Linked DNA regions of Homo sapiens: regions 2, 3, 4, 5 and 6 are each linked to region 1. Evidence: promoter capture Hi-C in 16 types of primary human blood cells and fetal thymus (Javierre and others, 2016). All regions are on one chromosome and are shown on one strand. Each heading gives the region's core, a stretch centred on a gene start or on the middle of the fragment in contact. The rest is flanking DNA. Distances are from core to core; before and after follow the strand shown. Region 1 holds the start of MSTN (myostatin). Region 2 has its middle 18 kb from the start of ASDURF. Region 3 holds the start of ASNSD1 (asparagine synthetase domain containing 1). Region 4 overlaps ANKAR (ankyrin and armadillo repeat containing). Region 5 overlaps ANKAR (ankyrin and armadillo repeat containing). Region 6 overlaps OSGEPL1 (O-sialoglycoprotein endopeptidase like 1).

The links. Contacts are between HindIII fragments. The CHiCAGO score rates a contact against its expected background, and 5 or more counts as called.
Region 2: a fragment that was not itself captured here is called in contact with the fragment with the promoter of MSTN in region 1 in 2 of 17 cell types (total B cells and naive B cells); the score reaches 6.0 in total B cells.
Region 3: a contact is called between the fragment with the promoter of ASNSD1 here and the fragment with the promoter of MSTN in region 1, in 16 of 17 cell types (naive B cells, total B cells, M2 macrophages and 13 more). The highest score is 28.7, in naive B cells.
Region 4: a fragment that was not itself captured here is called in contact with the fragment with the promoter of MSTN in region 1 in 1 of 17 cell types (M2 macrophages); the score reaches 6.4 in M2 macrophages.
Region 5: a contact is called between a fragment that was not itself captured here and the fragment with the promoter of MSTN in region 1, in 2 of 17 cell types (M2 macrophages and M0 macrophages). The highest score is 7.5, in M2 macrophages.
Region 6: a fragment that was not itself captured here is called in contact with the fragment with the promoter of MSTN in region 1 in 7 of 17 cell types (M2 macrophages, naive B cells, M1 macrophages and 4 more); the score reaches 9.7 in M2 macrophages.

What each region holds. Positions count from the first base shown.
Region 1 is chr2:190,059,759-190,064,890 of GRCh38, reverse strand. It overlaps MSTN (myostatin), which reads left to right and starts at 2,162. Exons shown (of 3, transcript NM_005259.3): 1 at 2,162-2,667; 2 at 4,456-4,829. The coding sequence starts at 2,295. It also overlaps a transcript of AKAP19 not described here. The HindIII fragment of the contact is 9,340 bases long and covers 1-3,095 here.
Region 2 is chr2:189,641,098-189,646,229 of GRCh38, reverse strand. No RefSeq gene overlaps it. Among named protein-coding and RNA genes, the nearest start is that of ASDURF, 18 kb to the left of the region's middle. The HindIII fragment of the contact is 1,608 bases long and covers 1,493-3,100 here.
Region 3 is chr2:189,659,512-189,664,643 of GRCh38, reverse strand. ASNSD1 (asparagine synthetase domain containing 1) reads right to left here and starts at 3,185. Exons shown (of 6, transcript NM_019048.4): 1 at 3,034-3,185; 2 at 690-743. ASDURF (ASNSD1 upstream open reading frame) reads right to left here and starts at 3,185. Exons shown (of 4, transcript NM_001353493.2): 1 at 3,034-3,185; 2 at 690-743. The coding sequence starts at 3,123. RefSeq lists an enhancer at 2,938-3,127. The HindIII fragment of the contact is 6,437 bases long and covers 127-5,132 here.
Region 4 is chr2:189,721,422-189,726,553 of GRCh38, reverse strand. The region is part of intron 12 of ANKAR (ankyrin and armadillo repeat containing); the gene reads right to left. Among named protein-coding and RNA genes, the nearest start is that of OSGEPL1-AS1, 39 kb to the left of the region's middle. The HindIII fragment of the contact is 262 bases long and covers 2,564-2,825 here.
Region 5 is chr2:189,738,602-189,743,733 of GRCh38, reverse strand. It overlaps ANKAR (ankyrin and armadillo repeat containing), which reads right to left. Exons shown (of 23, transcript NM_001378068.1): 19 at 5,052-5,132; 20 at 2,283-2,392; 21 at 260-459. Among named protein-coding and RNA genes, the nearest start is that of OSGEPL1-AS1, 22 kb to the left of the region's middle. The HindIII fragment of the contact is 3,103 bases long and covers 615-3,717 here.
Region 6 is chr2:189,755,801-189,760,932 of GRCh38, reverse strand. The region is part of intron 2 of OSGEPL1 (O-sialoglycoprotein endopeptidase like 1); the gene reads left to right. It also overlaps a transcript of ANKAR not described here. Among named protein-coding and RNA genes, the nearest start is that of OSGEPL1-AS1, 4.4 kb to the left of the region's middle. The HindIII fragment of the contact is 1,585 bases long and covers 1,842-3,426 here.

The DNA of each region.
Region 1 (5,132 bases), core at 913-3,412:
ATTGTCTGTTAGCGGAAATGACAACCTTTGTTCACTTTTTTCCAGGTGATAAGAATAAAGAGCTGGAACATGTCTTGTAACCTGGCTGCCTTAGAAAATTTTACTTGCCTCACAGGCCTAGAAAGTAGGCTTTGTGACTGATAATTGGCAGCTATGACCTGAAGCAGTTCTAGTTCATGTGGAGCATAATTTTAAGCATAATCTCAAACCCTTCTGCATAAAACAAAGAGCAAGCACTCAAATGCCAGTTATCAATTACTTACTATATGACAGGTGCCATATTCAGCAATTTACATGCATTATTAAATTATATCCCCCCAAAACCCTATGAGGAAGCTAAAGTTTAGGGAAGTTAAGTATCTCATCCATTATCACATAGTTAGAAGTGGCAAAGTTGAGATTTGAACTCAGGTCTATCTGACTCCAGAGCCTGAGTTCTCAATTCAACTGCTATACAATTCTAAGCATATTAAAAAAAAAGTTTGACTTACTTGGAACTGTATAGATGCATGTGTTACAATGATCATAACATTTGAAAGATTTACACATTGAAAAATGAATTTACCAAACAAATAAAACCTTAGAAGCCAGATCTAATATTGTCCCATAACAAAGAGTATCTGAAATCCTCAGGGCATCTGGTTTGTGTCTGGTTTTCCTTAATCTTTAATGATGAGCAAATCCAATGCATTATGTAAGGCCATTTTTTTCTCAAGAGATGTAGATACCTCTTAAGAATTTGATGAAAATGCATTAACTTTTCAGGCTACTGAGTTGCATTTTAGTGCACCGAGGCAGTAAATTAGTGTACAGTGTGCAAAAATGGTAGTGACTTTAAAAATAAATATTTGATATGAGCCACTGTATTCTCTTGGAAAAAAAAAGTAATGGACTAAATCTCTTAGGAATCCTTAGCTTCCCAAAAAGGAGTAGGAAAAAGAAATCTCCTTTGGCCTAGAAATATCTTCTGTTTCTTGCTGGCTATGTTTGCTTAGCTCTTTAATAGTTCATTTGACTAGATCTTGTGGCTCCCAAAGCTAAGGTTGAACGTTTGATCCCTACAGAGGCCACTTAAATTTAGAGAACAAAAAGCTCTATTCTCTGCTCCCAGACTTTACCCCAAATCCCTGCCAGGTGTCTGCCCTCTGGTCAAAATGAGAAATTGGCAAAGGGGTGCAAACATATCGCAGTATTGGGAAACAACAAAAGGTCACCCCTTTATCATGATGCTCTTTCTCTTTTATGTGCTCATAATATTCTGATATAATTTATAGAGAATAGATACTGCACTTTTTACTCTCTGGATATTTACTGCTGGAAATCTGAGGCAAACTGTAATAATCTCTGCCATGCCAGTTATAAAATTCATTATCTTAGTCTATGTTCAGAGATTTTTCTACTAGCTGGCATTACCCTCTTGGTAATAAACAATGAAAAACACATCTTCTGAGTTATGTTAATCTGCATCTTTAGAATAGGAAATAATAGCACTCAGTCAAAAGTTCAGTATAATTTTCATATTAATAAAAGACATGAAACTATGTAAAAATAATTCCATGCACAATATGTTATAATAACAATGACTTCCAATATTTACTAAGAATTTAGTCAGAAAACAAGTTTCTCAAATTATAGATGAAAATTCTCAACTAGTATCATAATCTTAACTTTTAATTCAGGTCTTCCTAATTTTTATTTTCCTAATTACTTGGCACTAAAAATAATTTAATACAACAAATAAAAATATTTTCTACTTCAAATACTTGCCTAAACAATATAAAATCATTTTAGTTTTTGAGGAAGTAATATTTCATATTTTAAATATGTAGTATAAATTAAAATTGACTTATTTAAATTACAATAAGAGTTGTGTGAGGATTAGTAAGATTTAAGTACAGTTTATATTATTGCCAACATAGACTTTTGTTTTTCAAATGTCACAAATATCTTTTATTATTTGTAGATTTATTTCTTTTATGAAGTAGTCAAATGAATCAGCTCACCCTTGACTGTAACAAAATACTGCTTGGTGACTTGGGACAGACAGGGTTTTAACCTCTGACAGCGAGATTCATTGTGGAGCAAGAGCCAATCATAGATCCTGACGACACTTGTCTCATCTAAGTTGGAATATAAAAAGCCACTTGGAATACAGTATAAAAGATTCACTGGTGTGGCAAGTTGTCTCTCAGACTGTACATGCATTAAAATTTTGCTTGGCATTACTCAAAAGCAAAAGAAAAGTAAAAGGAAGAAACAAGAACAAGAAAAAAGATTATATTGATTTTAAAATCATGCAAAAACTGCAACTCTGTGTTTATATTTACCTGTTTATGCTGATTGTTGCTGGTCCAGTGGATCTAAATGAGAACAGTGAGCAAAAAGAAAATGTGGAAAAAGAGGGGCTGTGTAATGCATGTACTTGGAGACAAAACACTAAATCTTCAAGAATAGAAGCCATTAAGATACAAATCCTCAGTAAACTTCGTCTGGAAACAGCTCCTAACATCAGCAAAGATGTTATAAGACAACTTTTACCCAAAGCTCCTCCACTCCGGGAACTGATTGATCAGTATGATGTCCAGAGGGATGACAGCAGCGATGGCTCTTTGGAAGATGACGATTATCACGCTACAACGGAAACAATCATTACCATGCCTACAGAGTGTAAGTAGTCCTATTAGTGTATATCAACAGTTCTGCTGACTGTTGTTCTAGTGTTTATGAGAAACAGATCTATTTTCAGGCTCTTTTAAACAAGCTGTTGGCCTGTATGTAAGTAGAAAGGAAAAGAGTTTCTCTTTTTCAAGATTGCATGAGAATATATTAATGAGACAAAAATCTGCTGCATTATTTGTTTTCTTATAGAGACAAAAAACTAAAAAATAAAGTACTTGCATAGCATTAATTTAATAAGGCAAATATAGATAGCATGCTTATGCTTTCACAATAATACCACCAAGGCAAGGACTGGGAGATACTACAAGCAGTGTTTAAAACTTACATTAGATTTTAGAATTGTATTTAGTTGTGTAAAATAAGTTTTTTTCACTAATAACAGAAAAAAAAAAAGAAACTTGCTGGATGTTTAAGCTTACTTGAGCACTGCTGAAAACCTCAAGTGATTTCTGTTATTTGAAACTCTCTCAGTAATTTTTTTGTTCTTCACAGTTAAAAATTTAATTTTGAGAGCTATTACACTGAAGAATATGCAAAAATTAAATATCTTAATGTGTTAGTAAGAACAATAATGAAGTAAACATAGCATAATAATCATCATGAACTAAATATTAGAAAATGCCTAAGAAATAAACATTTTAATTGGGTAGGTTATGGCTCACAAAGTCCTCCTTGTACCTTGACCATAGTACTATTATTGAGAGTACCCAGTTTGTGTACTTCCAAGCAGGCACAGTGCTTAATAACCTTCTAAAATATTTTATTCTTCCTGAGAGGGAGGGCTTTTACCTGTAGTATCTACACTGCTTCTGACAGATAACATATTTCATACAATTCCTTTTGCAGTCAGCTCAAAAGAATACTTTCTCCAGGAAAGAGAAACAGGCACCTTGACAGAGAAGGCATGGCAAGAAAAATTTTGTGTTACCTGTTATCTTGCTTTAATACAATGCTTTATATACTTTAAACAAGACTCCAAACAGTTTTAAAATATTATTTCCCTTATTAAGTAATCAGGTTACAATGCAGCAAAGAATTTCCATTTAAGACTCTGCTATCAAATAGGTCTGGAGCAGATTTACCTTTTATAGACAATTTTGGAAAACCAAAATAAAAGAAATTGTTAGTGCTTGTGCTTACATGACAGCCTGGCCCTAAAGACAATACTTTCGAACTTTTCAGATAGCCTGAATATAACATCAAAATTTTTGTGTTAATTATCTGCTTAGTTTTGCTCCTTTAAAAGGTTATTCCAAAGCCAAAATGTAACAGATGTACTGTGTTTTCTACTAATTCCTGAGGCTCAGTAAGTTGCTCAGTGTGTCTTGTCCCCAGGTAATTCAGGCCTGGGGGAAGGGTTCCTTCTTCCAGACTGATTGGTACAGCTGCTCAGTAAGTGTAACTACTCAGATTCCCAAAGAATTCTAAGTGGTTGTTCCTCCACAGTGTCTCTTGTTCTCTCTAATCATCATCATTTTAAAATTTCATTCAGCGTTCATTACTTCATAGAACCTTCCTTTGTCCATAGTTCTCTGGAAGGGGAATAGATTCCTGATGAACAGCTGAAAATACATACGTCTGAAAAATTCTGAAAAGCTAGGGTAATTATTTTCTTTGACATTTTTTTGAGTTATAAAGTTCCACACGGTATTTCATTTTAAAAGACTGCATAGGCATACATTATCTTAATTTAAAAAAATGCTCAACTATTAATATGGAGGGGTTTTGTTAATGGGAAATAATTTCAGCAACTTTTCTTTTCTTATTCATTTATAGCTGATTTTCTAATGCAAGTGGATGGAAAACCCAAATGTTGCTTCTTTAAATTTAGCTCTAAAATACAATACAATAAAGTAGTAAAGGCCCAACTATGGATATATTTGAGACCCGTCGAGACTCCTACAACAGTGTTTGTGCAAATCCTGAGACTCATCAAACCTATGAAAGACGGTACAAGGTATACTGGAATCCGATCTCTGAAACTTGACATGAACCCAGGCACTGGTATTTGGCAGAGCATTGATGTGAAGACAGTGTTGCAAAATTGGCTCAAACAACCTGAATCCAACTTAGGCATTGAAATAAAAGCTTTAGATGAGAATGGTCATGATCTTGCTGTAACCTTCCCAGGACCAGGAGAAGATGGGCTGGTAAGTGATAACTGAAAATAACATTATAATAACCTTATGTTTTTATTCATAATATGAACAAACAATAGTGGAAAATAGCTACAAATTCCCTAAGCTCATAAGCTAGACAAAGGTATCTTACCCCAACGGTAGCCCTGTACCCAATAAAAGTAGGTGTCCAATTTCATATCCTATGAAACACTCCCTTGATACTCTTACTTTGCATCAAGATTTTAGAAAACAATTATACCATACTTCTTAACTTCTTAAGAAGTCCTTTTGAATTGGGAATGAAATATAAAGTGCTTTTCATTAATATGATAC
Region 2 (5,132 bases), core at 1,047-3,546, 420 kb after region 1:
CAGAGGCAAGATAAGATTATATTTTGGCAAGAAGTCAAATGACAAAGAAAAGTACAAAGGAAAAAATGGTTTTTTTTCCTCTTTTCCCCCTCCCACCTGAGTGTTTAAAACATTTGCTTATTTTCAAAACAGGTACATATGAAAACATGTGATTTAAAAATTCAAATGAAGAGACTGAAAAAGAGAGCAACAAAACAAAAACAAGTAGGAACAGAGATTTAATGATGATAAATTTTGAAATTGCAAAACAGATTTTTAAAGTTTTTTTTGTTTGTTTGTTTGTTTTTGAGACAGAGTCTCACTCTGTCACCCAGGAGTGCAGTGACACCATCACAGCTCACTGCAGCCTCCACCTCCCTGGGCTCAGGTGATTCTCCCACATCAGCCTCCAGAGTAGCTGGGACTACCTGCATGTGCCACTGTGCCTGGCTAATTTTTTGTTATTTTTTGTAGAGATGGGATTTCACCATGTTACCTAGGCTGGTCTCAAACTCCTGGGCTCAAGCAATCTGCCTACCTTGGCCTCCCAAAATGCTGGGATTACAGGCATGAGCTACCATGCCTGACCAAGCCTAGGTTCTTAGAAAAGATTAGTAAGCCTGATTAACTAAAAAGGAAAAAAAAAGTAAAATATATAAATTCAGGAATGAGAAAGGGAATATAAACACAGGCATGGAAGAATTAAAAAGAAAACCTTTTAAAGAGAAGATTATTTGTAATTCAGTGGCAATAAATTTGAAACTCCAGATAAAACTGTTTATGGCTAAATATGAATTAACACAAGTAACTCAAGAAAAGGAAGTAAACAGTGAAAGACTAATGAATATAGAAGAAATTGAAAAGATTGTTGGAGAAATACTATTTTAAAAGGCGTAAACCTGAGTGATTTTTCGACTGCTGACATTTTTCTAACCTACAAAGAACTGACAATTTCACATATTTGAACTGGTCTAATTCATAGATAATTATGAAAAATTATGGAAAACCTCCAATTTTTGAAGCCAGCATGGTTTACATACCAAAACTTGATAGAAATAGCCCCCAAAACTCATGAGTATAGATGCAAATAATTAACTAAAATATCGATATACTGAATCCATCACCATACTAGAAGACCCAAAACAAAGTAGAATTAATTCTATAGTTAGCAATGATGCATTTCCTTGTTGATGATCTAAACAATAAGTGATTAAGGCCAAGATGATGATAGAAGAAGAACTAAGCCACAGTGTCCAAAGGTTTAAGGCAAGTAATTTAAGTAACTCCTTTACTATTCTTGCAATGAAGAATTACTCTGAATAAAGTCTAATTCCTTTAAATTTGCCAAGAATATTTAAAAGAGTTGCCTATAGTTAAAAACTAAAATTTGCTATTTGGTAACAGAACATTTCTAAACCTCATAACCAGAAGTGATATAAATAGATGTCAAAATCTGGTCTTTTAAGGAAAGAGTAAATAGTATATTTCAGATAGTACACTTAAGTTTTAAGCTTTAACTAAAATATAACCAGAAGAAATAAGACCATTTTGGGAAAAAAAAAATTGATAATGGCTTTAATGTATTTTTTAAGTTAAAATTAATTTTTAATTAACATATAATCACATTTTTATGATTTTTTTTTTTTTGGCTGGAGTGCACTGGCATGATCTCGGCTCACTGCAACTTCTGTCCCCTTGGTTCAAGTGATTCTTGTGCCTCAGCCTCCCAAGTAGCTAGGATTACAGGCACACACCATCACACCTGGCTAATTTTTGTATTTTTAGTAGAGACGAGGTTTCATCATGTTGGCCAGGCTGGTCTTGAACGCTTGACCTCAAGTGATCCGCTCACCTTGGCCTCCCAAAGTGCTGGGATTACAGACATGAGCTGCCACACCCGGCCACATGTTATGAAAATTTTAACAGCTTTTTTACATTGATGAAATATTCAGTTTAGAGCTTTAAAATTAAGAAATTTGCCCATCTGGACATGGTCATAATTGAATTATGAATATGAGAAAAGTGTGGCAAAAGTAGTTTTATTTTTTCATTTAGAACTCAAGGAAAGTTCCCCACACATTAAAGTGATAAAACTTAAGCCCTTCAATTACTGCTGCCTAGCAAAATGCCTGGCACCTATTAGGCTTTCCAATATTTGTCTAATTCAACTGAAATCAGTTTTGTAGCCACTGAAGACCATTCCACAATTTTGTTCACTGAACGCTTCGAGATAAAAGGTCAGTGAGAAAATAGAAGTCCTGAGCCCTAGAACCATCTCTGTACTGATCTATGTGACGTTGGACAAAACATTACATTCTTTGGATTATTGATCTATGACCAATGTATTCTCAATATCTTTTAGGTCATGTGAGCCCCCCGCTCCCCCACCCATTTTTTTTTTTTTGGTAAGGCGAATGAATTTCTTTACTTATCAATGTTGGATGAGTTTAGGAACTTAAGATAAAGGCCTGAAATGTTAGCTAACCAACAAAAATTTGTATGAGATAGGCACTATTATTCTGGAACAGAATAGAAATGAGTCAAAATGTGAACATCATATATAATTTTCTAGTAGCCATATTAAAAAGGTAAACAGAGACAGGTAAAATGAATTTCAGGAATATATTTTACTTAATGTATCAAAACATTACCATTTCACCATAAAATCAATATAAAAATTATTAAGATATTTTACTTTTTTATGCTATTTTCAAAATCTGTTGTGTATTTTACACTTACAGCACATTTCAATTCAAATTTGCTAGATTTCAGGGGTTCAGTTGCCACATGTGTCAGTGGCTAACTGTATCGGTCAGTACAGGTCTAGGCCTGCTAACTTAATAAAATAATACAAAAGAGTGTCTGTCATTATTATGTGAAATCTAGCATGATGGCCAAATAAGCCTTAAGATGATTCTCAAGCATAACAGTGGGATAGAAGTTTTCCTTTTTTGATTTGTAAAATGGGTGAATTGGGTAAGATGATCCACAAGGACTCTTCAGTTTTTAATACTGATGCTGTAGTTCTGTCAAAGTGCTTTACATAGAAGAGGTTGCTTAACATTGCTGTATTAGGTGTGTCGATTTTATATATGTGCTCTGTGTCATTCCATAAAAAGCTTAGAAGCAGAAACTGTGGAAAAAAGAGAAAAATAGAAAAAAAAGGAGAAGGAGGGAGGATGAAAGGAATGAAGAGAGGAAGGGAAGAATTAGGGGAAGAAGTGGGAGAAAAAGAGAAAGGAATGGAGGAAGGAAAAGGGATAATTGAGTCAAATCTCAAAAATGTCAATCTTCATTAGGTTAATTGGTAATTATTTATGATATCAAGTGAACTTTCAAACAGAAACCTTAGCTGTTGCATGCAGTGCTCTTTTAAGCTACAAAATGCATTTTAAAAATAGACTTTGTCCCGAGAACCGCCTTCGACTGTGAACAGACTTGCATATGGCACAAGTCTAGCAGACCTTGGGCTTCATAATCACAGCCTTGTAAACTGTAAAGTTCACATCACTACGAGAGTGACCACACACAAAATCTGCAATCTACTCCCTTTATTTTCTTGTTCAATGATTTAGAAAAGCATGATATCAATGTAAATATATTTCAACTTGTAAATTTTATTGTTAAGAGTTAACTGGGCCGGGCGCAGTGGCTCACACCTGTAATCCCAGCACTTTGGGAGGCCGAGGCAAGCGGATCATCTGAGGCCAGGAGTTTGAGATCAGCCTGGCCAACACGGTGAGACCCTGTCTCTACGAAAAATGCAAAAGTTAGCTAGGCCTAGTGGCGCGTGCCTGTAATCTCAGCTACTCGGCAGGCTAAGGCAGGAGAATCGCTTGAACCCAGGAGACAGAGGTGGCAGTGAGTCAAGATCGCGCCGCTGCACTCCAGCCCGGGTGACAGAGTGAGACTCCGTCTCAAAAAAAAATAAATAAATAAAAAGGAAAAGAGTTCACTGAAAGCTCTTAGTGGCTCAAGAGGTACTCTCTGTTGAAGCCTACTTGATTAAAACAAAATGGTGGCTAGTTTACTTTTAGATGCATTTCTAGTTTTGAGTTGAATTGGGAAATATACCTCCAGAGGGTAGAACAGAGAAGGGGTATACCTATAGTGATCAATAATAGGGCTTTTCAGTGTAGTTTTCATAGCAGTTGAACTAAAATTCTGGCCTTGTTCATATGTGGCTGCACTTGTTGGACTGTGAACCACTTGACAGTGAATAGGTCTACAGGTATACAAGTTTAGCTCCAGCACCTTCCATAGTAGGTGCTTTCATCCACCTCTAATGACTTCCATTTTTATCTATATGCTGACAACTCTCAATTTGTAACTTGAGTTCAGGTCTTTCTTTTGAGTTCTAGTCCCATTTTACTCAAGACCTGCGCCTGGTTGACTCACAGATGTTTCACACTCAATGTGTCCCAGACTGAACTCATTATGTTTCCTCTTCCAGGGTTTCTTATCTCAGCAAATGACATGGCCACCCACCCAGTTGCTCAAATCTGAAACCTTGACTCATGGATTCCTCTACCTCTCACAGCCCACCAATCATTAAGCTCTTCTGAGTTCCTTCAGATGGATTTCTTAAATCCATTCACCTTACTCCATCTCTGCTGCTATCACTTTAGTCCATCGTATTTCCCCTGACTACTGCAACAGCCTGTTTTCCCTGTACCCACTCAGGCATCTCTGCCTTCCAAGCACTTTGGGGACTTTTAAATATGTAAATAAGATTACTTCAGCCCCTTGCTTAAAGTATTCAGTGGCTCCCCAGTGCTTTTAAATTCTAAACTCTCTTACCTGGGCCTACATGGTAGTTGCTTGTGCCACTGTCCCCTTCATTGACTATTTCCAGCCTTTTTGATCTTATTTCTCTTCCTAGTACTCTCTAAGCTCTTTCTACTTCAGGTTCTTCCAACATGCTGTTTACCTTGCCTTAACATACACGCTTAATTCCAATTAACTTCTCAGGTTTCACCCTACTTGTCACTTGTCACTTCTTCCTGCAAGCCTTTCCTGAGCACAGGAGGAGGTTAAGACTTTCTTTATTTTCTTTATGTGTTCTTGTAGCTCCTTGGATTCCTTTGTGATCCTTATCAGGTTTGTTTTATTGACAGTATGCTTATTTTTCCAATGTGGAATTGGACTGTTTC
Region 3 (5,132 bases), core at 1,936-4,435, 400 kb after region 1:
CTGAGTAGCTGGGATTACAGGCACACGCCTGGCTAATTTTTGTATGTGCCTCAACTTCTAATATTCCATAAGTGACAATATCAGAAATATCTAACCAGCCAGTTATTACATAATCTTTACAAAGCTTTTAAGAGCTCAAACTCATTTCTTCCTGAATGTTAAAATGCAATTTGACACTATAACCATACACAAAGCAGTAGCTTACTTGTTTGTAACATATTAATGGAAATGGCATTAAATAACCATGTTACACATTTAGGAAAATCTATGTAAAAATTTTTTGGAGGGAGGGGAAGCAATGTATCCTTTTTTGTTCAATAATTATCCACATTCATTTAAAAGAAAAGTTTCTTCTCATCTCAATATAAAGTTCGTTTATATCAAAAGAAAACATCAAATTCAGGTATAAAACATCATTAGTGATTATAGCTCCAAGATACCAAAATACAACTAGTATCATTTGTTGCAAAGGCAATGTGAATGGCATATGATAGAAAAAAGACATCTTCAGCTATGAGATCTATCCATTTAAAAAAAGAATCTAGACACTTGCAATTTTAAAAGATGCTGAAATACTATACATTTTATTAAAGTATGATTAAATCTTATATATACTTCTTATAACTTTAATATATAGTTAACATAAATAAACCTCCCACATATTATTCAGAATTCCTATAATAACTCACCCTATTCTTCTTAAGGTTAGAAAGTTCATCCACCACAATTTTTTGTTCTTTAATCTATTGAAATAAAGAAAAACTCCTTAAGTCAGATGTTTTCAAAGTATGCTCAATGAAAATCCCTTAAGGGGTTGTTTTAAAATTAGAGATGGGATAAGGGGCTATGATGTACTGGTTTTCCAAACGGGCAGTTTGTGAATATACAGATCATTTTCAACAGGAGTCTCTGTGTGGGGGTACAGTTCAGGAAAAGCTGGAGGAGAAAAAACAGTGATTAGACTTGCAAAATGTTAGGTAACCCATTAAGACCAGACAGGGATTTTCGTGTTCATAACCAGCAATCATGCCAAGGACTACAGTTACTAAACAAGGTTTATACCTTTTGTTAAAAATATATGATATACACCAGGCCGGGTGCGGTGGCTCATGCCTGTAATCCCAGCACTTCGGGAGGCCAAGGCGGGCGGATCACCTGAAGTCGGGAGTTCGAGACCAGCCTGACCAACATGCAGACACCCCATCTCTACTAAAAATACAAAATTAGCCAAGCGTAGTGGCACATGCCTGTAATCCCAGCTATTCGGGAGGCTGAGGCAGGAGAACTGCTTGAACCCGGGAGGCGGAGGCTGCAGTGAGCCAAGATTGCACCACTGCACTCTAGCCTGGGCAACAAGAGTGAAACTCCGTCTCAAAAAAATAAATAAATAAATAATTTAAAAAATATATATATATGATATACACCAAAAGGAATTAAGTTGTGATTTAGATTGAAAATTAAGTTGTGATTTAGATTTAAAAAAAAGCAAATTGAATGAGGGGTGGGTTACTTTTTTCAATATTTTCATGATTTTATGTACTAAGTGCTGCAGTCAAACATTCAAATCAAGCAATGCCCTATTTGGGGACAGTAAGACCTATCATGTTCCATCTTGGTATTTTTCCCTCTTTTTATCTCAATGACTAGCATAGAGCTGGCACTGTTGAACTGGGCTTTTTTTTTTTTTTTTTTTTTGAAACAGGGTCTTGCTCTGTTACCCAGGCTGGAGTGCAGTGGTGCGATCACGGCTCACTGCAGCTTTGATCTTCCCGGGCTCAGGCGATTCTCACACCTTAGCCTCCGAGTAGCTGGGACTACAGGCCTGGGCCACCATGCTGGCCTGGGCTTCATTTATTTGTAGGGGAGGGCTCAACTAAGTGAAAACTAAGTTTCTTTTTAACTCTATTTATTTTGTGAACATGACTGATTACATAGTATCACAAGAGCCTCTAAAAGCAGCTTTTATCATATTTGTGCTACCTCACACACACCTCAGGGATCTGTAACCACCAGTATGCGTAAGTGGCTTGCTATGGTGGTAATCAGAATGGGCTGTGTGTCTTTTGAAAATTCACCCCCAATCCCCATGAATGTGCACCTTTCTGTCTCCCCCGTTGGCAGAGCTGTAGTAATGAGGTTGAATTCCAAGGCCAAATTTGTAAACATTCTTTGAGACTTAACATTTATACAGGGCTTTCCCATTTTAGGAATGACAGGTGTACATTTCACTTTACTTCAAAGAAGGTAACTGATACAGAAAGATTAAAGAGACTTGCCCAAGATGTCATTGTAAGTTTGGGACAGAACCAAAGTAGAATCTAGGACATGTAATACCTGAAGGGCTATAACCCTCGCCACCCCCATTTATCTTTAAAGGTTGTTTGTTTATGGCAGTTAAGGCTTATATTATATTGGCTTCCTCTCTCCCCCAGTTTGGTATGAGTGACAACCCAATGCGTGTTTTAGGACCATTGCTCTGGTTAACGGAGAAGCAGCAGCTAACAGGTGGATGAGGAGAGACCGCTTAGGAAGGCCTTGCCGGGGGCAGGGGTCCCGATAGCAGATGACGGTGGCTTATTTGGGGTGGTAAGAGTGTTCACGGTGATAAAGGGACATATTTGAAATGAGCTTCAAAGGTAGAACTGATAGGCTTCCATGATGGGGGTCAAGGATGGACCCCGGGTTGCTGGCATGGTTAACTGGATGGAGAATATCTTTGATGGAACAGATTTGGGGTGGGCGGTATTTCCAAAAGTTTAAAAAGACTAGGGAGGAAAACACCCAACCAAAACTCCGCCCCACTGTCACCTGGGTCCAGTCTCGGGACAAATTTCAAGATCTCCCTTTTCGCAACTGTTTTCAGAAAATAAAAGGACTAACTGTGGCTGTCAAGTGCTATGAATAAAAAGAGCAAAGTAGCAGGGCAAAGCCGAGGCCCAGGCAGGCCCCACGCTGCCCGCTGCGGACCACCTTCAGGGTCCAGTGGCGCCCGGTCCCGAGTCCAGGAGCCTTTTCGTCGCGTCTCACACTCACCTTGCTGCTTAGATCCTCCTTGTGTGGGGTCGAATTGTCGGTGGGGATCAGCACAGAGCTGTCCTCTGGTCGCGTCCCTCGGCTGGGCATTTCCACCGAGCGCAAGACACGCGGGATGGCTCAGCCCTGAAGGAGCCTACGGCATTAGCCACAGCGCATGCGCGCTTCCAGCCGCGCTCACCCTTTCTTTTCCCGCGAGTCTTACCAATAGCGTCTGCGCGCTCACTTGAACGCATGCGCAGGCCGGGTCTGGCCTGGGGAGGAGTTTCGCGCCTGCGCATGGCTGCTTAGGGAGCGAGTAAACAGTCTGGTTGCAAAATCTGAGGTTCCTGTACTGGCCTCTTGTGGTTGAGATGCAGAAACGCTCAGGTGGTTTCTTCATGACCTCTTATCTAGTATACTACGAGTTCTGTGCGCCCTCCAGTGGTAAATATGAAGAATAGTCGTGCAATAGAAACAGCGCTTAATATGATATTTATTATCTAGGGAAAGATGAAGCTAAGGAACAGATTTAAGAGATACCGTGTTGGCAAAAGAACTGTACAGACTTGGTAAAGTTTTGGTTAACTCGTGGTTAGGGTTGCCGGATAAAATACAGTATGAACTTCAGATGAATTAATAGTTTTTTAGTGCATCTATGTCCCGTGCAATATTTGCAATATCTCATTTCTGTGGAAAAAATGACTAAAACTTGGAAATAGGCAAAAGAGATTTATTTACTGGATGCTCTTTCAGTGCTGCTCTGGACTTGACTTTATTATATTGACTGGGCTGTTTTACAATTCTGTAGGGGCAAAGGTTAACTTTGGTAGAGATTTTGGTTTGGTAGAGATGCAAATAATTTTTTGTTGTACCAGATACCAACACAGGTTATGATTTATTGTTCTGCAACACATTAGTCAGTTTTGTATCTAACCCTGCATTCTGTCCTAACATTTCTTTATTAACATATGCCTAGCTTCTCTAATATTCTGTATTGGTTTTAAAGTCATCGGTTCCCTCACTAACCAATGAGTTGAATAAAAGTTTGACATGTATATATTTTATGTTCACATTAGAGACATGATTTTAGGTTTTTGATAATTATACTATATTATTGGAAATCTTAAGTTTCCACAGAGATGCCCAACTGGATTTATGTGATGAATCAAACTATCTGGCGAAAGAAATGTATACATCATGGGTTGTTTAAGGCCAGGCATGTTTTTTATTTGCTCTTACAGAAAACCCAAGTGGTTATATATTTTTCCTTTATAATTGATTTTTAAAGATTGTGTTTTCATTTCTGATTTGTACATTCCTGATAAGTTATTCAGGTATAACTTATACATTACTGATACATTGATAGCAGCAATGATTGGGAGTTTGGTTTTGTGGTCTAACCATTTGGTGGTATCTGTTGGATGATGGACGTCTAGTCTCATTGGTAGAGAGGTAGATAGGTGCAGTGGCTCAAACCTGTAATCGCAACCACTCGGGGCTGAGGTGGGAGGATTACTTGAGGCCAGGGGTTCAAATAAATAAATAAGAGAGGTGACAGAGAAGCGAGTTTGTAAGTCTTTTTGTTTATTGTTTGTGAGCTCAAATTAATTAATTACTTTTGTGTCCACTGAGAGGGAAGGAGGACAGCTATTTGAGATGTGGGCTAGTAAGGTTTTGTTTGTTTGTTTTAACATAAAGGCCGCTCAAGCAGAAGAACTGGTGAATTTTTGTGGTTTTGTGTTTACTTTTGACCTGAGATTGAAGTTGTAAGACAGAAGCAATAACCTCTTTATGTGTCTGTGTGTCTGTAACTTAGAACAGGCTTTATGTCTCCCTTTGTAAATATGAAATATTTCCCTACTTCTGGAGTGTATTAATAAATCCCACTATAGTATCTCTAATTAAAGGGCCTCTGTTCTGACTAGTTTATAGAGAAAAATAAGCACTGGTATAATCCCAATATTTTTAAAAGCCCAGAATTTCCAATACTTTAAATGTGCCAGATTTTTAAGGAAAAAAGTTCTTACAAAACTGCTAGCTTAGAAACATTTTAAGAATCCAAGTTTAGGAAAAAGAGAGCTCCAAAGTGAAGTATCACTTCACTTTGTTGTTGTTGT
Region 4 (5,132 bases), core at 1,445-3,944, 340 kb after region 1:
ATGGGTCATTTAGTTTAGAGAATTTTCCTCAGTTTGGGTTTGTTTGATGTGTCCTCATGACTCAAGATATGCACCTCCATCCAGAATATTTTTAAAGTGACATTATGGCTTGGGTGCAGTGGTGCATGCCTGTAATCCCAGCTATGCAGTAGGCTAAGGTGGGAGGACTGCTTGAGCCCAGGGGTTCAAGATCAGCCCGGGCAACATAGCAACCTCATTTCAAAAAAAAAGTGACATTAGGTTCTGGGGATATCCTCTGTGGAGTTATATAATGTCCATCTATTCCTCATTGGTGATGTTAATTTTGATCACCCAGTTTCTCTACTGTATAGTTGCTATTTTCCCTCTTGCAACTAATAAGGAGCAAAACACTTTAAGACCATGTAAATATCAAAATTTGCCCCCAAGATTTAGCAACCATTTATAATTTTTGCCTGAACCAATCTTTACTATGCTGTTTGCAAAATACTAATTTTCCAAATCTACCACCCCTTCACATTTGTCAATTGACATTCTGCTATAAGGAAGAGCCCTACCTTATTCTCTATTTATTTGTTTCCTTGTTTATCCAGTTGTTATCAGGATGAGGGCACAGGCTCCTATTTTATTCAACCCTTTACTTTTCTTTTCTTTTCTTTTCTTTTTTGAGACAAGGTCTCGCTCTGTCACCCAGGCTGGAATGCAATGACATGAACTCAGCTCACTGCAACCTCTGCCTCCCAGGCTCAAGCGATCCTCCCACCTCAGCCTCCCAAGTAGCTGGGAATACAGGCATGTGCCACCATGCCCAGCTAATTTTTGCATTTTTAGTAGAGATGAGGTTTTGCCATGTTGCCCAGGCTGGTGTTGAACTCATGAGCTCAAGCTATTTGCCCGTCTTGGCCCCGCAAAGTGCTGGGATTATAGGCATGAGCCACTGTGCCCGGTGTATTTTCTTACTTATGTTGGTACCCAAAATTGTCTAAGATTTGGCCAGTGGGAGCCCCTTCAGGTTGTCCTTGTGTCCTATAGATATGCCTATAGATATAGATAGTAAAAAAAAGGATTTTATTACTTTCTGTCACCATATGATGATGTTCCTGACTCACCATATACCTTCTCTGCCCCTGCCCCAGAATCAACTATTTCTCCAAGAAGCTCTGGTTCCTTTTAATGAGGGATGATATTTAGAAACCAAGATTTGGGTGCTCGGTATGCTCATTGCTACTGGAATATCATTGCTTCTGGATCATATATATGTGTGTGTGTGTGTGTGTGTGTGTGTGTGTGTGTGTATAAATCCATATATATAAAATATGTATACATATATATGTATGTGTATACACACACACTCATACATACACACATACATTTCCAGTTCCAATCCAACCCCACAGGGTTTATTGTTTTCCTACATTCTGCACATTTCTTTGCACAGTAAGAACCCAATAATATCAACACATTTATTCATTTCTTTAGTCCTATGGTACTTATCATATGGGTTCAGAATTGTTCTACCCATATCATTATGACATACAAGCTCACTAAAAAGAACTCAAAATCTGTGTGTAGTTTGTTTTGTGTTTACCCTTAGAAAGATGGTATATAATGCACTGTGTTTAAAATTATTTGTATTCATTTTTTCTTTTCTTTTTAAATCTAGTTATACAATTTATTTCAGTTTTCATTTCCCCCAGCCTTGTAGATTTAATTTTTTTATTATGTAGAATATCAATATATTTCCAAAAGCAAAACTAAATAGAAAAGTGTTTGTGCATTCATGTAGCTAACTATATCCTTTAGATGCTCTATAATCCAGCATTTGTTTTTTCATATACTATCAAGGTTAATTATCTCTCTATTAAGGCCTTATTGTTCATACCAACTTCTATACCCACTTTATATCAATTTATGTCAAAAATATTAACTATTTTTATTGTTATGAGTATGTTATTCATTTAATCATCTAATCATTTATTTAATGCATATTTATTGAATAGCTATGTGCTAGACACTGTCCCAGGCACTAGGGAAATAAAGGTGAACCAACAAAACAAGGTCCTTGACCTTGTCGAACAAAAGGAAAGGCCAGAGTAAAGAACAAAGCAATAAGTTCAATATTACTTGAGAGTAATATCAGAGAAAAAGGGAGTGACAGGAAGGTCATTTCCTCTTGAAGTAGGGAAGTAAAAAGGGCTATAGGCCATGCTGGAAACATGGATCATATCCTAGGTGATAGAGAGTCACTGAATAATTTAAAGAAGAAGATATGATCAACTTTACATTTTAGTTAGATCACTCAAGTAACACTTGGAATGTTAACCCTGAAAGATTAATAAAATTAAGAGAGTGTGGGGGAAACCATTCTTTCCCTTACCCACTATTCCTGAATCAGTACAAAAAGTAGAAATTCCTCTACCCATGGCCAACTCAGAAATGTTAAGAATAAAAATTTACCCCTTACTCATTCTTCCCCATGAGAAGAATAGTGAGTTACATAATTTTTTAATTTGAAGAATGAGTCATTGCAAATGCATGGTTTACGTTCTTTTTGGCACTTTTTGTTGTTTTCTCAAAGCAAGCTTTCCAACAATAATGCTGAAGTTTTGATCTTTATTTGATTCCTGTCTATTTCTCATTTGGACCCAAATTCTGAAAGGAATGGAAGTGTCTTTACTAAGCTATTCAGTAATCCAAAGTAGCTCTAAAGCTCAGGGAAGACGTCAGGGATGTGGATAAAGAACTGGGAAGAATAGATTGTAAACCTAGTAGAGTTCCTTTGGAGTGAATAAGAGGTAAAGAAGAGTATGCTGGATGAAAGCAGCAGTATGACAAGAATGGAAGCTTAAGGAACTCCAACTTTTAAGAGTTGGCTAAAGGAGGACTAATGGTGAAGGCAGACTTTACAACTTTTGGGGTCATAATTCCAAAGTTTTCAGATTTTAGAATGTAAGGAGTACATAATACTACATATTGTATAACATCACAAAGGGTCTGGAGAAAATCAATTTCTGCAGAAATATGTGAATAATCATTCCAAGAAAAAAAATGAGGTGATCTTTTAAGTTTTTCTCAGTTTGAAACTGAAAAAGCATTTTGTATGCTTTTGTTACATATTTGAGTTTCTGTGGTGGTGTCATATAAACTTTTGTTATTAACACAGAACAGGAAAGTAGGGTACCATATGAAATCAGAAGCATTGTAGGAATGAAAGCATGCATACATGAATATATGTATATAAGAATGTGCATACAAGCAGCTAAATGGGTGAAGGAAAGGCCTAAAACAAACCAAACTTAGCAAGGGTAGCCTTGCTCTGGACATAGAGACTCAGACCAAGGAGATGTTAACAAATCCATCTTTTCAAGAAACTGTATGTGAATCTACTTTGGGGCCATTTTAATACATGAAATCTTAGAGTAGCTCACATGGTAAAGAAGACACTGGAATTAATAATATGCCTTTGTGATCTCCTATACCTTAACAACCCAGCTAACATCCAAGAGGACTATTTGCTAAAGCACTGAAGTTATATAGGGAGGCTTACCTAAAAGGAAAAAATAATTAAAATTTATTTCAAAATTAAGTTATCTTCCTTGGAGTGAGGACATAATGTAGATTATGGTGTAGGAAAAAATACTTTTATTTCAATAATTTATTTCATACTATAGTTTTCTTTTCTTTTTTTTTTTTTTAGACAGTGTCTCTCTCTGTTGCCAGGCTGGAGTGCAGTGGCATGATCTCGGCTCACTGCAACCTCTGCCTCCCAGCTTCAAGCGATTATCCTGCTCAGCCTCTCAAGTAACTGGGATTACAGGCACGCGCCACCACACCCAGATAATTTTTTTGTATTTTTAGTAGAGACAGGTTTTCACCATGTTGGCCAGGATGGTCTTGATCTCCTGACCTTGTGATCCACCCGCCTTGGCCTCCCAAAGTGCTGGGATTACAGGCGTGAGCTACCACACCCGGTGCTATAGTTTTCTTTCATGAACTCATTTATTATTTATTTATTCAAATTGTTGCTACAATTTGTACTTTGTTACAGCATCTGGGATTGAGAAAAGGAAAACAGAAAGAGAAGACCTAGTCCCTATCTTTAAATTTTAATTAGTTAGATAAAACACAAACAAAAAAAGAGATAAAGAATGACTATAAATGAGTAAAAATTATATGTTTAAAATATACATAAAAGCTGACCCTCTCTAATGCTATTCTTTTTTCCTTTTTTTTTTTGAGATGGAGTCTCGCTCTGTTGCCCAGGCTAGAGTGCAGTGGTACAATCTCAGCCCACTGCAACCTCCGCCTCTCGGGTTCAGGCAATTCTCCTGCCTCAGCCTCCCAAGTAGCTGGGATTACAGGCGTGCACCACCACACCCAGCTGATTTTTGTATTTTAGTAGAGATAGGGTTTCACCATGTTGGCCAGGCAGTCTCGAACTCCTGACCTCAGGTGATCTGCCTCAGCCTCCCAAAATACTGGGATTATAGGTGTGAGCCACCACGCCTGGCCTCTGATGCTATTCTTAAAGGATAAAGTAGAGCATAGTAAGCGATGGAAGAACACTTGAACAGAGAGAGCATAAGGAATTTGTTATGAAGGAAGAGGGCTTTCAAATGATGTCACCACACGATAGAGGTTCTTAGAAAGTGACACTTGCTTAAATTTGAAGTTTTAAAGTAAAGGAAAGATCGCTTCTACATTCCCCTTATTCTTAATCTTGACTTACATTTAACCAATATATTTATTTTGTATTTATTCCTGGTGAACTGGAAGAGGAAGCCAAATGATATACTGAGCAGGAAGAAAATGAGCAAGTTCTTCTCAATTTTCTCTTCCCCCAAATTTGGGGAAAACCGTATATTTGGAACTTACCTGTTAAATGTGCTAACTGGAATGAAATTATTCTTACAGAACCCAGGAGACCATTTGCAGTAGCTGCTGAAACTGCCTCATGGCTTTTGATGTTCTTGGTACTGAGACGCACTTTAGGAACTGATAATTGGCCTAATGCTTCCTGATAACCTTGAATTTTGACGTCAAATATCTAACAAATCTGAAGCCCTTGTTGTCACTTGCAAAATAGCTACCCATGATCAATATGTTACTATCAATATGTACTATTCACCCAAGGTAGCATATACTCTCCTAGG
Region 5 (5,132 bases), core at 917-3,416, 320 kb after region 1:
AACTTTCTAAAATGTGAATAATCCTGGCCAGAGAGGATCTCTAAGATCTAGATGTGTTCTTGTCTGCACCCACAACTCTGGTGCTGAGTTGGAATTAAAACAGGTTGTGGCAGTGGTCATTTAGAATAAAGTTTATCCTCTGCTATACAGGAGATATGTTCATATCAAGAATAGTTCCTCTTGTTGGATCTTACTAAACCTCATTAAAGTCTCCTCTATCGATGATTTCACTACTGCAACTTCTAACATAGGACCATACCTTAAGGAAGGAAGTCCCACCAGTGTTTGTTGCATTTGAAATTCCTTTAAAAATGCTGGGTTAATACTTGCATCTCTGCTGATATTATTTTTTATACGAATGAACTGATTAGGTTTATTCCTGCATTCTTTTAATAGGATGCGGAAAGCATTTGCATTGTATGTTAAGTAGCCAAGAGCAGAGGAACAAGCTGCACGAACCTAAATGAAGAAACAATTCTTTCTTAACCAGTGGGCTTTGTTCTTAAAATATCTTAATGTTCTAATTAGCTATTTCATAGGAAAGTCTCTGTAAGGGAGGGAGCAAGTGTAAGCAAATATGTATGCAAACAAATGGCAGTGTATAGACGGAAGCTTAACTGCCATATTTTTACAGAGAGCTGTCAACTGCCATTGATTTCTAGTGGTTGTTCTCAGTCTTAACTGCATTTTAGAACCACCTGGAGTGTTTAAAAAAAAAAAAGCCCACCAACTAAATCAGAATCCTTTCAGGGGTGTGTGTGTGTGTGTGTGTGTGTGTGTGTGTGTGTGTGTGTGTGTGTGTGTGTGTGTGTGTGTGTGTGTGTGTGTCAGGTAATTCTAGTGTGTGTGTGTGTGTGTGTGTGTGTGTCAGGTAATTCTAATGTGTGTGTGTGTGTGTGTCAGGTAATTCTAATGTGCCACCAAAGAAAGAACTTGAGTTTGAACTAAGGTAGTGGATGCAACCCTGACAATGCATTAGCATCACCCATATAACTTTGACAATTATGCCTGGGTTCCATCCCTAGAAACTCTTATTTAATTATTTTGTTTATCATTCTCAAAGGAGTAGGAACAGACACTTTGGAGAATAGCTAAGTGGTACACATAGGAAAGCTGAACTCTTGGTAACAGAAATCTTAGAGAAAGCAACTTATTTATTTATTTATTACTTTAAAAAAATTTTTTTTTAACATTCAGACGTTACAAGAGCAACTCACTTTTCCACTGGCAAAAACAGAAAGAAGCACAAGTGTCAGGCCACAGGACTCTAGAAAAAATAGTTCTTTGAAGAAAATACCCTCTGTCTATGACCCATAGATTGGTCATATGATTAATTAAAGTATGTTCCTGGCCAGTTGTAGGGAATATGATAGTAGCATAAAAAGTTTCATAGAATGAACATATTGGTCTTTATGTTGGCATCCGGTTGCTCTGTATGCTCATATGTCTTCTAAACCTTGAACCCTGGACCTGTAGTTCAGCTGCTGGGAACTTGTTCGAAATGCAAATTCTAGGGCCCACCTCAAATGTATTGGCTCAGAAACTCTAGGAATGGGGCCAAGCAATATAACAGGCCCTCCAGGTGATTCTGATATACCCTAAAGGTGGAGTAACACTGCTTTAGACCTTAGTGGAAGAGAGTAGGGGAACACTCAGAGGCAAGCCACTGCTGTGACCAGCACGGCCTCTTTCACACACCCTTACATCTAACCCTGCTTGACACATAAGGAAAGCTATCCTATGAATTCCATTTTCATTCATTTCAAATCATAGAAATAACTTAGATCAGAGTCACCGGTTTTCATTAGATACTTAGTAAACAATTATAAGTTTCTTTGTCATCAACGTACTTATAGATTGACTCTTAATTCCAGGATTAAGATGACTTATTTTGTAGGGTTTTGTTTTTGTTTTTTAAATCAGAAACTAATTTGAACAGGTAGTTCTTTTTAAATCTTTAATTGTAGTCGTTTTATACTGCTTTTGTGATTAAAATCCTAATTTTAAGTCTTAGGGTTAAAACAAATGTATATTTTTATAGGAATTAAAATTGTGGATGGCAGATATGTATGACTAATTAGTATTAGAAAAGTCATGTAATTTTGAGTTAGTAACAAGAACTATATTATATATATAACACAGTCATGTAATTTTGAGTTAGTAATAAGAATTATATTATATCTATAACACAGTCAATCAGTGGAAAAATTAGTCCACAGAGGGAGAGGTAAATTATATTTTTAGCATATTTAATTTTAGAATTAGTTTTTGCTTGTTTTTACCTCTTCTATTCCCGAGTACAAATGATAGCAGAGCCGTTGGATTGTTCCTAATGTGGTAAATGCTTCTGGGATACCAGCTCTAGAATGAGCCAGGCTTGCTATTAAATTCCCTATAAATTAAACAAGAAAAATGCTTGTGTTATTTAATTGATATAAACTTATAATACTTTCATTAATTGCACATAGCACTGAAAAAAGTTTGTGTCACAAGACATCTCTGTCAATGAAGCAGCACTGAGAAAAAGCATGCATATGTAAATATAGAATAAACTCCCCAAAATTACAGTTTGGTTTTCTGTCACAAATAGTGTAAATTAAATAGGTTTATGTAAGGGTGAAAAATTTGAAAATTAGAGGTTTTCTTTCTCCCATATCTTCAGAATATATTTTGTTTTGAAGTTTTTAGGGTTTTAAAAATAACTATGAACATAATGATTTAATTATCATAAGAAAATTTAGGCCGGGCGTGGTGGCCCACACCTGTAATTCCAGCCCTTTGGGAGACCGAGGTGGGCAGATCACCTGACTTCGGGAGTTCGTGACCAGCCTGACCAACATGGAGAAACCCCATCTCTACTAAAAATACAAAAATTAGCCGGGCGTGGTGGTACATGCCTGTAATCCCAGCTACTCGGGAGGCTGAGGCAGGAGAATCGCTTGTACCTGGGAGGCAGAGGTTGCAGTGAGCAGAGATCGTGCCATTGCACTACAGCCTGGGCAACAAGAGCGAAACTCCGTCTCAAAAAAAAAAAATTAATATGTCCTTTTTGCGGTTGAAATGGCTTTGAGTTAAGCCTTATTAATACTTTAAAATCAATCAATGTATTGCTTATTGAGGTTTAAAAATCACTGAAGTTTTTACATAAAAGTAAATGTTTTCAGATTTAAAATAATAAAGTGTCCCAATAATTAAATGTGCAGCTAGCAACTGAATATTATTTCATTTATATTTGTTTGAAGATAAAAATGTATTTTCATATTTCTGTGTGGAGTATGTGGATACTTTATTGAGATATGACGTGAGTTTTTGTTCTCCTTATATTTTTGTCTGGCCTCTATTATAAGCCAAGAAATTCCTTGTGTTTATTGCCTCCGAATGGGGAAAATTGGTTGTATCATCTAAAGCAAAAATTGTCTAAAGGTAAGCTCTATTTAAAGTTAAAAAGACCCTTTAAAGATGGGAAGTTAGAAATGGAAACAGACCAAGGGAGCAGCTAAGAAAGAGAACTAAAGTTTATAGTTCTCAAAGGAGTAGAAGGAGGAACTCCGAGTAGAGAATAGCTAAGTGGTATAAATAGGAAAACTGAATTCTTGGTAACAGAAATCAGTTTCCTAAAAACTTCTGTGCCTTTGGAGCATCTTCTGGAAACCATGTCAACTTGACACCAAGCACATCAGTTATTTTACACTATACCTGAGGCCTGAATATCAAGCTTTGCCTGAGATACCCTGGACATGCATATGACTGGTTGTGGAGTGCAGAGAAAGTCCAGTAATTTCTGAGATTCATTTCTCCTCATCCTGGAGGAATTAATTTAATATTTGAAAGCCAATGTAATATGGCATTTCTTTCCTATAAGAGTTTGTGGAGGCCAGGTGTGGTGGCTCATACCTGTAATCCCAGCACTTTGAGAGGCCGAGGCGGGCGGATCATGAGGTCAAGAGATCGAGACCATCCTGGCCAACATGGTGAAACCCCATCTCTACTAAAAATACAAAAACTAGCTGGCCTTGGTGGTGCATGCTTGTAGTCCCAGCTACTCGGGAGGCTGAGGCAGGAGAATCGCTTGAACCTGGGAGGCGGAGGTTACAGTGAGCTAAGATCGCACCACTGCACTCCAGCCTGGCAATAGAGTGAGACTCCATCTCAAAAAAAAAAAAAACTGTGGAGTCTAAACCCACTACAGTTGTTTTTCAGAGTCACAGAATTACTATAACATTGAATTAATAATGTTATTTAGATTAAAACATATTTAATAACTTCTTTAAACTTTTTTTCTAGCTAGTTTCCATCAGAAAGTTTTCATTGCTTCATTTTTCCTTCCTTGCCATGCACATATACTTCATAAACATGTAATTCTATGGCATCAAGTAAAGTTTCCTTTAGTGATACATTTTAATTAAAAAACAAATACTTATTTGTTTATATTGGTAGTAGTCACTGCATATTACTCATTCTGACCCTGCCTTATGTTACTTTAAGAGTGGCATAACAAGTCAATTAAATATTACTGATCACCTATTATGTGTGAGCTGTTGGGTTAGGTCTGCAGTAGACACAGTTATACAATAGCAATAAATGTGTTGAGAACGCTATGGGACCATCTTGCTTTGCTTTGTTGCACAGCGATGTAAAGAACTTTTCAGTGTTAGCAAAATGTGCACAACTGGACAAAAGGAAACCAGACAGAGGTACATCTGTGTAAATCTGCCACCACTATTATAAATCAGTTTTTTTATTTTGCTGTTTGTAGGTCATAGGTGAATTCTCATTTATATCTTGGAAAAAAAAGTTAAGGGTTTGAAAAAGTAATTAGGAAAGCAAAAAGTCTGTATTCAGAGTTACTCAGCTTCTGTTTGGGGTACAGAGTAGACACCCATTGTTTCGTGTAGACTTGCTGTGGAGTTCCATGTAGATATAAACATAAGTTCGTTCTTTAAACTTGTGGCAGTGTATCAGGCGTATTATTTTATTATTATTCAGATTACAATAAACTGTTTTTGAAAATAGTTTTATGTGGCTAAAATTAACTTCTAGTCATTTCTTACCTGTCAAGACAATAGTAGAAGTCTGAACTGAATACAGACTATCAACTAAAATAGTAACACCTCTTGCAGACAAAGTAATAT
Region 6 (5,132 bases), core at 1,385-3,884, 300 kb after region 1:
GATAAAAAGTGGAAAATGTCTGGAGGAGGTCACTACTCAGCTCTAGCCAGTTGTCATGTGGGAATGCAGGACCTGTGTTATTAGATTATTATAATTTTCAAGGGAAAATGGAAATCCAGATTTTTTTTTTCTTTTTTTTTGGTGAGACAGAGTCTCACTCTGTCACCAGGCTGGAGTGCAGTGGCATGATCTCGGCTCACTGCAATCTCCGCCTCTCGAGTTCAAACGATTCCCCTGTCTCAGCCTCCCAAGTAGCTGGGATTACAGGCACGTGCCACCACGCCCAGCTGATTTTTTGCATTTTAGTAGAGACGGGGTTTCACCATGTTGGCCAGGATGGTCTCAATCTCCTGACCTCTTGATCCACCTACCTCGGCCTCCCAAAGTGCAGGGATTACAGGCGTGAGACACCGCGCCGGGCTGGAAATCCAGATTGTTAATGTATTTGCAGATTTTTTACATTAGTAGCTAATTTAGAATATATTAAAATACTCTTGGGAGGTGGGGGGCGCCCCCGCCCAGCAGCCGCCCCGTCTGGGAGGTGGGGGCGCCTCTGCCCGGCAGCCGCCCCGTCTTAGGGGTGGGGGCCCCTCCGCCTGGCCGCCACCTCTGGGAAGTGAGGAGCCCCTCTGCCCGGCTGCCACCCCGTCTGGGAGGTGTACCCAACAGTTCATTGAGAACGGGCCATGATGACAATGGCGGTTTTGTCGAATAGAAAAGGGGGAAATGTGGGGAAAAGAAAGAGAGATCAGATTGTTAATATGTCTGTGTAGAAAGAAGTAGACATAGGAGACTCCATTTTGTTCTATACTAAGAAAAATCCTTCTGCCTTGGGATGCTGTTGATCTATAACCTTACCCCCAACCCCGTGCTCTCTGAAACATGTGCTGTGTCAACTCAGGGTTAAATGGATTAAGGGCGGTGCAAGATGTGCTTTGTTAGACAGATGCTTGAAGGCAGCATACTCGTTAAGAGTCATCACCACTCCCTAATCTCAAGTACCCAGGGACATAAACACTGCAGAAGGCCGCAGAGTCCTCTGCCTAGGAAAACCAGAGACCTTTGTTCACATGTTTATCTGCTGACCTTCTCTCCACTATTGTCCTATGGCCCTGCCAAATCCCCCTCTCCGAGAAACACCCAAGAATGATCAATAAATACTAAAAAAATAAATAAATAAATAAATAAGAATAAAATACTCTACAGATGAGTATACCTTTAAGCTATCAATTTACAACATCTGAATAGTGAAAAAGCCTGGTATTTTGGAATCACAGTCCTGTATTTGAATCCTGAATTAAGCACTTGGTATTGGCTCTGTAACTGTAGGCAAGTTCCATATCCTCTCTGATTCTGTTTTCACATCAGTAAAATAGGAAAATTGGCTGGGCGCTGTGGCTCACGCCTGTAATCGCATCACTTTGGGAGGCCGAGGCAAGTGGACCATGAGGTCAGGAGATTGAGACCATCCTGGCTAACATGGTGAAACCCCATCTCTACTAAAAATACAAAAAAAATTAGCCAGGCGTGGTGGCGGACGCCTGTAGTCGCAGCTACTTGGGAGGCTGAGGCAGGAGAATGGCGTGAACCCGGGAGGCGGAGCTTGCAGTGAGCAGAGATCGCGCCATTGGACTCCAGCCCGGGCGACAGAGTGAGAGTCTGTCTCAAAAAAAAAAAAAGGAAAATTAACATCTGCCTCATAGAATTACGGGAGGGTGGCATTAGAAATAATGTATGTAAAGAGGCAGATTGAGCCTCAAACAATAACTATGTGAAAGGGACTGTGTTGGATATTAGTAAGGCACTGTGAAGTACTGCAAAGTCCTTGGTTTAAGGAAGCTTAACTTGATTATGGAGACATGATGTCTAGACCTACAAGGAGAATTAATAGTGCAAGGCAGCATAGCATAAGGAAAAACAAGTGGTGCAGACAGTAACTATTATTACCGTGCCTCAGCTTCACAGTCCTTTCAGTTTTTCCTGAGTGCACTGAACTTTTGAACATGTAAAAGTTAATGGCACAGAAAGGACTACCCTGACCACTTTATCTAAATTAGGTACTCCCATCCTATTTATTCTGTATCATCATACCCTGCATATTTTCTTTGTAATACTTTCACAATTTATACATTTGCTTGTGTATGTATAATCTCTCTCAGTAGAGTCTAAGTGCCAAGGTGACAGGGGCCATGTCTATATTAATCACTATGCTATGCCTAGTGCCTAACACAATGTTTGACACATCACAGGTGTTCAGTGGCCTTTCGTTAGGCCTTCAGTGAATGGAGATGGAAAGAATATTATAACCTGTGTTAGTTCATTCTTGCACTGCTATAACGAAATACCTGAGACTGGGTAATTTATAAAGAAAAGAGGTTTAATTGGTTCGTGTTTCCACAGGCTGTGTAGGAAGCGTGGCAGCATCTGCTTCTGGGGAGGCCCAGGGAGCTTTTACTCATGGCGGAAGGCAAATTGGGAGTAGGCGTCTTACATGGCAGGAGCAGGACCGAGAGAGGGGGGGTGAGGTGCTACACACTTTTTTTTTTCTTTTGAGATGGAGTTTTGCTCTTGTTGCCCAGACCAGAGTGCAATGGTGCAATCTTGGCTCATCACAACCTCCGCCTCCCGGGTTCAAGCGATTCTCCCCCCTCAGCCTTCAGAATAGCTGGGATTATAGGCATGCGCCACCATGCCCAGCTAATTTTGTATTTTTAGTAGAGATGGGGTTTCTCCATGTTGGTCAGGCTGTCTCGAACTCCCGACCTCAAGTGATCCACCCACCTCGGCCTCCCAAAGTGATGGGATTACAGGCGTGAACCACCACTCCCGGCCCACACTTTTAAACAACAAGATCTCATGAGAACTCATTGACTATCGCGACACAGTACCAAGGGGAAAATACGCCCCCATGATGTAGTCATCTCCCACCAGGCCCCATCTTCAACATTGGGAATTACCATTCTACATGAGATTTGGGCAGGGACACAGATCCAAACCATATCACTAAGTGAGCATTGTCAGCAAAGACAAAGAAGTGAGAAAGTACTAGACATTCAGTTTAGCTAGAGCATAGGTCACTTGAGGAGACTACTGGGCAAACAGGCTTCAGTGATACCATCCACCTGGCTCATCTCAGCATTTTTTGAATACCTATAGCTGCCAGGCAATACTTAGGGCATTTGGGATACAAATATAAATGAGACATATGACTCTTGCCTTTGAACAGCTCACCATATAAGTGGGTTAGAGTGTAGGCTTATATTCTGGTTCAGCCATTTACTAGGCTTATATTCTGGTTCAACCATTTACTACATTTGATACTGTGCACAGTTTTTTGTGCCTCAGTTTCCTTATCTGTAAAATGATAATAATGACCACTAACTCAAATTAATGTTGTGAATATTAAGTGTGAATTCCTTTAAAGCTTTTAGGGCATTCTTCTTGAATAGCAAGGGCTGAATACAAGCTAGCTCTTAGTAACAATAGTAGTTCTACTACTACCATCAGTAAAAATGAAGAAGACAGTAAGCAGATCATTGTGAAACAGCATGGAAAATGCAATAATAGAGGATTACTTGGCAGGAGGAGTCCCTTCTTCCAAGCCAGAAACCTGAAGGACACCCTTGACTTCTCCCTCACCATTCCACATCCAAATCAGTCATCCATTCATAGTAAATCCATCTCCCAAATATTTTTTGCAACTTTCCTCTCCCTTCTCACTGACTGAGTTCAATCCCTTATTGTCTTTTGCACAGACTCTTGGCTATAGCTTCAAGCCTCAGTGGTTTCCCTGCCTCTTTGTTAGCTTTGTTCCATAATCCACACTCCATACTGTCTACAAATCATAGACAAAAATACATTGTTATTATTAATTCTTTGAGAATAAAGCCATGTTCTTATTTGGCCCTAGTGTTTAGCATAATCCCTGGAAGATAAAATACACAGAAAAGGCATAGAAAGGAAAGGAGGGAGGCAAGACAGAGAAGGAAGAAATGAGTTGCAGGGAGAGAATTTGGATTTGATGTCTCCCAAATTCCATGAAACTAAAGGTTTTGAGTAGGGGAATAACTGGTAGCATGTGCTTTAGAGTATTCTCTGGCAGCAATATAGGATGGGCTCTAAGGATCAAAGGACAGAGTTAGGAAAGTACAATTAGAAGACTGTTGAACAGACTGAGATGAGGGCTTTTGAGACTTGGCAGTGGGAGTGGTGATAAACTTAAATGCGGAGAGTGAGGGAGAGAAAGGAAGTAAAGATGAACTTTGAAACCCAAGGGTTATTTGATGCCACTAACAAAGATGAGGAATATAAGAGAAAAAGTAGCTTTGAAGAATTAAGGAAAATTATATTACAATGTGGATGTGTTGAAATCAGATCATTTCATTTATATCCCCCTCATTGCCTGAAACAATATTTTAATTACTCAGCAAATATTCATTGAATGCACTTACTGAGGATTTTCATTTCTACACATAGAACTAGTAGATCTTGCAACATCAAATATTGGAAGATGATTTTTTTTTGAAACTAGCAGTGCGTTTTGCAGACTCTATTTTATTGCTCCAGTTCTCATATTGTAAATCAATCACATGGTAGCAAATTTGTTGCTAGCAAATTTGTCTCTTAGTTCTTTACACTTGATATTTGGAGTGGCCATCCACCATCCTACATGGACCAAAAATCCAAATTACAAACTCTGAGCACCAGATTCCCAAACTGTATTTCAGGATTGCAAGCTATCTGCTATCCTGCTGTGACCTCAAGTGGAATGTGTTTTAAAATAAACTCGTCGTCTTTATAAAACTGTCTTCATGTTTCTCTTTTAGAATTTCTTTTCTCCCGGTCATTCCAGCTGAATAGCTGAACAAACTTTGATGCCTTAGTCCCCCTGTCCCTTTATATTCAGTTAGTTATTATAGTTCTTAAGGTTCTCTGTCCCTTTCTTTCCATTCCCACAATCGCCCAGTTTAAGATATAATCATTTTACACAAATACTTTCGCAGTAATCTCTCTTAAAATCTTCTGTCAGCAAGGAAATTAATTTTCCTTAAATACAATTTTTTCCTGTCCTTCCCATGCTCAAAACTTGTATGGAATGCTTTACAAGATTATTTTGGTGATTTCATTTGTCA